Linked DNA regions of Homo sapiens: region 2 is linked to region 1. The links are contacts of gene promoters, found by promoter capture Hi-C in blood cells and fetal thymus (Javierre and others, 2016). All regions are on one chromosome and are shown on one strand. The core of a region is centred on a gene start or on the middle of the fragment in contact, and the rest is flanking DNA. Distances in the headings are between cores, read along the strand shown.

Region 1 (3,756 bases), core at 995-3,494:
TGTAGTCCCAGCTACTTGGGAAGCTGAGGCAGAAGAATCACTTGAACCTGGGAGGCGGAGGCTGCAGTGAGCAGAGATCCTGCCACTGCACTCCAGCCTGGGCAACAGAGTGAGACTCTGTCTCAAAAAAGGAAAATTAAAAAAAAAAAAAAAAGAGAAACAGAGGCAGCAGCAACAATAAGCACAGCAGGGTGACAGGTGACAGCTTGTTTACCAGCCCCACCCCACCCCCACAAAAGGAGCCCAGGTTCATTGTCAAAACAAGTTGCTAGTTTTGTGTCCCTTAAGGGGTTGGGAGAGCTGATCTGGGGCTCCAACGATGTGCCTGTGTGTGTGTGTGTGTGTGTGTGTGTGTGTGTGTGTGTGTTACACTGTCTTGCTCTGTTGCCCAGGCTAGAGTGCAGGGTTGCAAACACAGCTCACTGCAACCTTGGCCTCTCAGGCTCAAGCAATCCTCCTGCCTCCGCCTCCTGAGTAGCTGGGACTGCAGGCATGCATCACCATGCTGGCTAATTTTTTAATTTTTTGTAGAGGCTGGGTCTTGCTGTTACCCAGGCTGAGGGTGTTGAACTCCTAGGATTAAACAATTTATTCAGAAGCGACATCATCCAAGAACACCAAGGCAACTTTACGGAGCAAATGTTTTATTTAATAAGTTATAAGATACAATTTACAGTCGGCGTTTGATTCCAGTTTGGCTTCCGTGTCCCAGCTTACAACACCCGTGGTCCTTTCACATCAGGCTCCGGGCTGTTCCACTTTCTGTAGGGTGGGCTTTTACCCCCAACACTCGCCCCAGATACTACACCTGCCACAAGAGTGGCCACTTCCTCAGGACTAAGCAGCAAAACCTAAAGGTCTGCCTGCCCAGACCACACTACACATTTGGGCTCAGGCAACGTCCCTGACACTTTAACCTCATTCCAAAGCCAGCTCAGGTCTGCAGGAAGGCAGGCAAAATTCCCTACACCTCATTTCTGGATTTCTGCACCACACAGCTCTCACTGTTTCTGCCAATGGTGAAAAGACCACCAATAAGCTGCTGCCCTTCTCTCCCCCAACCATTCCCAACTTTCAGGCCAAAGACCCGCAGGAGTTTCATTCTGTCCTGTCTGTACAGATCATTATTTTCCAGAAAAAGTGACCCATGAAGTTGGCTGGGGCGGGTGTGGAGTGTTATGTCATGGGACGGACCTTGGGATGAGGGCGTTAATCCATGGGCCCCTCTGAGATCACTTTAAACATTTTGGTAAGACTGCCCAGGCTGATGAAGGGCTGGAGCGTGTGTTAAAAACAAGGGCTAGTGTTGGTTAAAAGGGATCTTTGGCAAGTGGGAAACTGCTCGCCACTGCAGAATTTCTTCAGACCAAGGAAGGGACTGAAACGGACTTGGAAAACTAAAGCAAAACCATGACTGCCGGGATGGTCTCGTGTGGTGATTCTGCAAGAAATAATCACCAGAGCGAGGGGACAGGTACTTGAGAGACATGTGGGCCTGGCTGCCACTCTGCCCTCTGAGTTTCTGTAGGGTGCCCGGCTGCCACTCTGCCCTCTGAGAAGTGTAAGAAGGCCACAGAGCATGGGGGTGTTGGCGATGAGGAGCGGTAAAGCAGTGCTAGTGATCTAATAGCCAAATACATTAACACGGACACTGGAAGAGATTAAGCGGATTTTAAGTCATCTCCTTTGCCAAATGACAACCAAACTAGGTGTCCCCTTTTTCTCTGCCCATCTTCCCCTAGCCTTGTTTCATAAATGCTGAAGAGTGAACCAGCAGCTCAGGCTAGCCAGTTTTGTTTTTTTGAAATGTCAGTCTCATTGTGTTCCTGGTCTGTCTGCTGCAGTGGCTGGTCTGTTCCACCAAGAGTTCTGGTTTGCACCTAGTGTACTCAGGATCTTCTCAGCCCCCTGAACAAGCTTGCATTTCTTAAGATTCTCCAATATGTCCCTCAAGAGTCCAGTCTAGGACTTATTTCTGAAGGCATTTTACAACAGCAATATTTTAGGGATGGGGTTTCAGCCCCACAAACAGGCTGGAGGGCTTTGTATAAAATGAATTACAAACAAGCAACAAAAGCAACCACAAGAACTCTCTCCAGGATTTGAGAAAACTGTTTTAAGGCACTGTGACATGAAAAGGGCTGCCAGGGATGTGTTCCTCCCCCCACTTCACAGCCAGCACATAATCGCCCCTCTCCTTGACGACGTATGTGACGTTGTATTGCTGGTTGCCTACATGCTTCATGGAGACCTCCTCGCAGGGGGTGGTGGGCCCATGGACCCCGATCAGCAGCATGTTGGAGCCTAGGAGGCAAAAGGTGGTTACTCCACCCGGATGCATCAGGACAGGCACAGGAAGAAGAGGAAATATGAGAGCCAAAGGTAAGGTGCTTCCACGATAATGCTGGGGCCCCTAAGAGGTGGGAGAGCGTGGCAATTACAAGCAGAGGCTCATAGAGCCTGACGGTGTGGGTTCGAATCCCTGCCCTGCCACTTGCTACCTGGGTGACCTTGGACTGGAATCTCACCTCTCCCTAGCTCAGCTTCCCCATCTGTAAACAGGGAATGAGAACAGCACATACCTCACGAACTAGTTGTGAGGTTTAAGAGTTATGGGTGTCAAAACCTAGCACACAGTAAGGGCTATTCTAAGTGTTGGCTATGAGAATCTTCTTGTTTACTCTCACAAGCACCTTAAGGAAGGTACTTCCGAGAAGAGGAAACTGACTTTTGGAAAGAGATTTAATAACTTTCCAAGGTCACATGGCTAAATAAGTTTTAGAACAAACGAATGAATGAATGAAGTGGCGGTACTAGGTTTCCAGCCCAGGTGTACTGGATGCCAGAACCCAGGCAACCGACCCTTGAAACCCAAATAAATACCCAAGTTCAAAAGGCAAAAGAGAAGGAAATCATTTAAAAATATTAAGTGCAGGAGAACAGGGTCATGACGATGGTTACTTGCAAACGGCTGGCCTACATGGGGGTGGGCACTGCAGGAGACCTCAGCAGGGAAGGCCAGTGTACCCAGGGTGCCCAGCCTGCCCCTGCCCCACCCCACCCTTGAAAAGGCCCAGACACCTACCAGCTTTGCTGCAGTCCACCAGGAAGGAACTCTTCTGGCCCACAAAGGCCTTTGAGAGCCCTGCCCCCTTAGAGGTCACCTTGCTGGCGTCCGAGGATGCCTTGGGAATGGCGCTATAGCAGGTCTCTGTAGACGACCTGGTCACTGACTCCACCAGGATGGATGAGGTCTCGTTGGCTGAGCCAGGGCTAACTAGACGCTGGCCTAAGATACAGGAGGGAGGGGGACAGGCATGAATGGCCAGATCAAGAGGGGTCTCTCAGCCAGAGGACAGGCGAGTACCCTACACAGTAACCCCAGGAGAGCCCGCGCACCCCAACACAAAAGCCACCACACCTGTATCTCACACCCATAATGTCTTCTAAACCCCTAGGATCCCACCCCCATACAACTAGGATCTGGCTTTCTGGGCAAATGGATGAGTCTGGCCTTGGCTGACAAGGCCAAGGACCCTCCCAATCCCCCCACCCCCTACCCACCAAAGATGTGCCTGTGGAATTCACATCTTTCTATTGACATAAAATAGTCTATGTATAAGCAGTGTAAAAGTTTGGGATGACATATAATGAAATATCAAAAAATGATTCTGTGGATGAGAAAGGATGATTTTTCTATCTGAATTTTCTAATTTTCCTGCGATGAACCTACATTCTTTATGTAACAGTGAATCA
Region 2 (3,814 bases), core at 558-3,057, 120 kb before region 1:
CAGGCTCTGATTCCTGATCAAATGACTCTCTGCTGGCATAGCCCAGGGCACAAACAAAGCTTCTTTCAGTCCCTTGGCGCTGCAGAAGAGAGCACATGAGATCCCCTTCTCTCCACGTCCACAAAACCATGCTGTGAATCCTCACCATGCCTGGCTCATCTAAGACACCATTGCCTCTTATTCTGCGTACACGCCATGGGCACAGCCTGGCTGCTCCTCCCCACTCTCTCCTGCCTGGGTCATTCATGCACTTGTGGGTCTTTGTGGCCACAGTGTGACCTCCTGCCAGTTAAAAATTGATGCATTTAGGTAAAGGGTATGCAGGTATACTCTGTATTCTTTTTTATTTTTATTTTTTTGAGATAGGATCCCGCCCTGTGGCCCAGGCTGGTGTGCAGTGAAGCAATCACGGCTCACTGCCACCTCCATGTCCTGGACTCAAGTGATCCTCCTGCCTCACCCTCCAGAGTAGCTGGGACTACAGATGCATACCACCATGCTTGGCTACTTTTTTAAAAATTTATTTTTTATAGAGATGGGATCTCACTATGCTGCCCAGGTTGGTCTCAAACTCCTGGGCTCAAGCAATCCTCCTGCCTTAGCCTCCCAAAGTGCTGGCATTATAGGCGTAAGCCACCATGCCTGGCCTTCTTTCAAATTTTCTGTAAGTTTGAAATTATTTCAAGATAAAATTTTTTTAAGAATAGAAGGAATAGATTTGTTTGGGCTGATATAAAATGATTTCCAAGATACCTACTTATATATACATATACATATATATATATATATACACACACACACACACACACACACACACACATATATGATCTTATATATCTTATATGCACACCTATATATATCTAAGCTTTCAAACATGCATCTTAGATGCCAGTGTATCTAGCATGTTTGAAAGCTCAGATATGTATAGGTATGCATATATATACACTATACGTGTGCTTAGAATAGGAGTAGGCAAACAATGGCTCACTGCCCGTTTTTATAAATAAAGGTTCACTGGAAAAAGCCATGCCATTTGTTTACATATTGCCTATGGCTGCTTTTATACTATAAGGTCACAGTTACTCAACTGTGTCCAGGTGTGACAGAGACTGGACCACAAGGCTGAAAATGTTTACCATCTGGCCCTTTACAGAAAACATTTGCTAACTTCTGGCTTAAAAAATTTAGGCCAAGCATGTTGGCTCATGCTTGTAATCCCAGCACTTTGGGAGGCTAAGGAAGGTGGACTGCTTGAAGTCAGGAGCTCAAGACCAGCCTGGCCAAAATGGTGAAACCCCGTCTCTACTAAAAAAAATACAAAAATTGCCAGGTGTGGTGGCTCACGCCTGTAATCCCAACACTTTGGGAGGCTGAGGCCGGCAGATCATGACGTCAGGAGATCGAGACCATCCTGGCTAACATGGTGAAACCCCGTCTCTACTAAAAATACAAAAAATTAGCTGGGCATGGTGGCGGGTGCCTGTAGTCCCAGCTACTTGAGAGGCTGAGGCAGGAGAATGGCGTGAACCCAGGAGGCAGAGCTTGCAGTGAGCCGAGATTGTGCCACTGCACTCCAGCCTGGGTAACAGAGCAAGACTTCGTCTAAAAAAAAAAAAACAAAAGAACAAAAAACAAAAATTAGGTGAGCATGGTGGAGGGCACCTGTAATCCCAGCTACTTGGGAGGCTGAGGCAGGAGAATCGCTTGAACCTGGGAGGCAGAAGTTGCAGTGAGCCAAGATTGGGCCACTGCACTCCAGCCTGGGTGACAGAGCAAGACTCCGTCTCAAACGAAAAAAAGAAAAGAAATATATTCAAGATAGTAAGATAAGAGTTGCCTCATGGTAATGGAGAATGGAATTTGGGATGCGAAAAAGAAAAGTTTTCATTATAAACCTTTTGGTGTTCTTTGAAGATCTTTTTATACCATGTGACTACATGGCTTTGATAAAAACAATTTTTGAAAATGATTTAAAATTGTCTTTCCTTTTACCAGACCAAATGTTGTTTCTCTCCACTCCCAGAACTCTGCCCACTGTCAACACTGGCACCCAACACAGGTGCCTTCCCCCTCTTCCTGACAGCAGCGATCAGCTCACTCCATAAATAACCACTTGTTCTTCCTCAAGGACGTTTTTCCTCAGAGGCCCTGGTGACCAGCACAGACTGCCGCGGGGATGTGTTACATACCTGGTCTTGTTTCCCCCAGATGATCTGCGTCGGAACCTTGATCTTGTCCATGTTCTGATGGAGAGAGTATCTGGACTTCTCACTGACGATTTCCAAAAACACTTGTCAGAAAAGGAAAACAAAGTGAGTATGTGCTGGACTGTGCCTGTGGCACCACCGCAGAATCAAGGGATAGTCACCAGATCCAGGCCACCACTTCCTCTCTTCAGGGGCCCAAAGAGACATTCAAAGTGTCAGAGATTTAAGAAATAAAAGCCATCCATCCACAGAGCTTCACTTGTAACAAGCTCCAAGCTGAAAGTAGGGCTACTTACACTTTCGGTAGAAGTTGTTATGAGGGATGCGGACATCGACAAGGCCTTGCAGGATCTAAGGATAAATAACCCAAAGTTAGAGAGCAAGAGAAGATTCATTTCCTCAGGCCTCTCACAGCTCTGGGACAATGAATGGGAATGAGGTCCAGCAATTTATTGCACTGTCAAGGTCTTTAGAGCCTGGTCCTCTGAATTCCCATGATGCAGCACACAGTCTAATGGGGAGTTAGGCTTCTAAGAAGCTTTTTATTATTATTATTATTATAAAGGAACTTGGGTAATATCGTGAAACTGGAGGTGCCCTACAGCATGTTAAATACACCTGAGATGGCCTGACAGCAACTTTAGCTTGAGAGATTCTCTGCTTCACTTAAGACATAATCAGGATGGGCCGGGCATGGTGGCTCATGCCTGTAATCCCAGCACTTCAGGAGGCCAAGGCGGGCAGATCACTTGAGGCCAGGAGTTCAAGACCAGCCTGGCCAAATGGTGAAACCCCCATCTCTACTAAAAAGACAAAAACTAGCAGGATGTGATGGTGCAGGCCTGTAATCCCATCTACTCGGGAGGCTGAGGCAGGAGAATCACTTGAACCCAGGAGGCGGAGGTTGCAGTGAGCTGAGATTGCGCCACTGCACTCCAACCTGGGCGACAGTGAGACTCTATCTCAAAAAAAAAAAAAAGACATAATGAGGATGACCATAATATCAAGTAATTCGCCAGTAATATCCAAACGCAGAACAAGTTCCATTAAAAAAATTAAGCCACTGGGGGATGATAGGTCTATTAAACAACAAAGAAATAAACTATTGAAAAGATTCTGGGGAGGGTTCCACAGTCCCACTGGGAGGGTTCAACAGCCCTTTGTTTATCATTTGACACTGTCTTTGCCTTCCCTGCTGAGGGCTGGTGAGGGCTGCAGCCAATGTGGACAGGCCACATCTTCTGGACCTGGGCTACTGACCCAAAGAGGTAGTGGTGGCTGGAAGGAACACAGTTCTTCTCTTCCTCCTGCCTCAGGACTCCTGAGGTAGAGTACAGGGTTCACATTAGTGGCTGTACTCCTCTACTCCTCTCCTCTACCTGCAAACAGGTCTGAACCCTTTAATTACACTCTCTCAGGAGTCCTGTGCACTGACTGAAAGTGGGGAAGAACCAGCCATGGCTGCTATGGACTAAACCAACCCTCTGGAGCATCACTAGACTCTAACTCATTCAGCCTGGACATGAGGACAATGACAATTTGTTGAATAACAACATTGTGCTCAGCATCAGAGATTTTCTTTGTTCAGCTATCCACCTGTACCCACA

Evidence for each region. The method cuts DNA at HindIII sites, captures the fragments that hold promoters and counts their contacts. A CHiCAGO score of 5 or more calls a contact.
Region 2: a fragment that was not itself captured here is called in contact with the fragment with the promoter of FLNB-AS1 in region 1 in 1 of 17 cell types (endothelial precursors); the score reaches 5.8 in endothelial precursors.

The regions. Positions count from the first base shown.
Region 1 is chr3:58,169,123-58,172,878 of GRCh38, reverse strand. It overlaps FLNB-AS1 (FLNB antisense RNA 1), which reads left to right and starts at 2,244. Exons shown (of 2, transcript NR_135534.1): 1 at 2,244-2,382. FLNB (filamin B) reads right to left here. Exons shown (of 46, transcript NM_001457.4): 45 at 3,086-3,289; 46 at 628-2,304. The coding sequence ends at 2,117. It overlaps LOC124909485, which reads right to left and starts at 1,102. Exons shown (of 6, transcript XM_047449435.1): 1 at 1,006-1,102; 2 at 718-808. The coding sequence starts at 1,102. The HindIII fragment of the contact is 5,353 bases long and covers 1,920-3,756 here.
Region 2 is chr3:58,283,829-58,287,642 of GRCh38, reverse strand. It overlaps ABHD6 (abhydrolase domain containing 6, acylglycerol lipase), which reads right to left. Exons shown (of 10, transcript NM_001320126.2): 8 at 2,504-2,558; 9 at 2,190-2,290. Among named protein-coding and RNA genes, the nearest start is that of RPP14, 21 kb to the left of the region's middle. The HindIII fragment of the contact is 1,880 bases long and covers 868-2,747 here.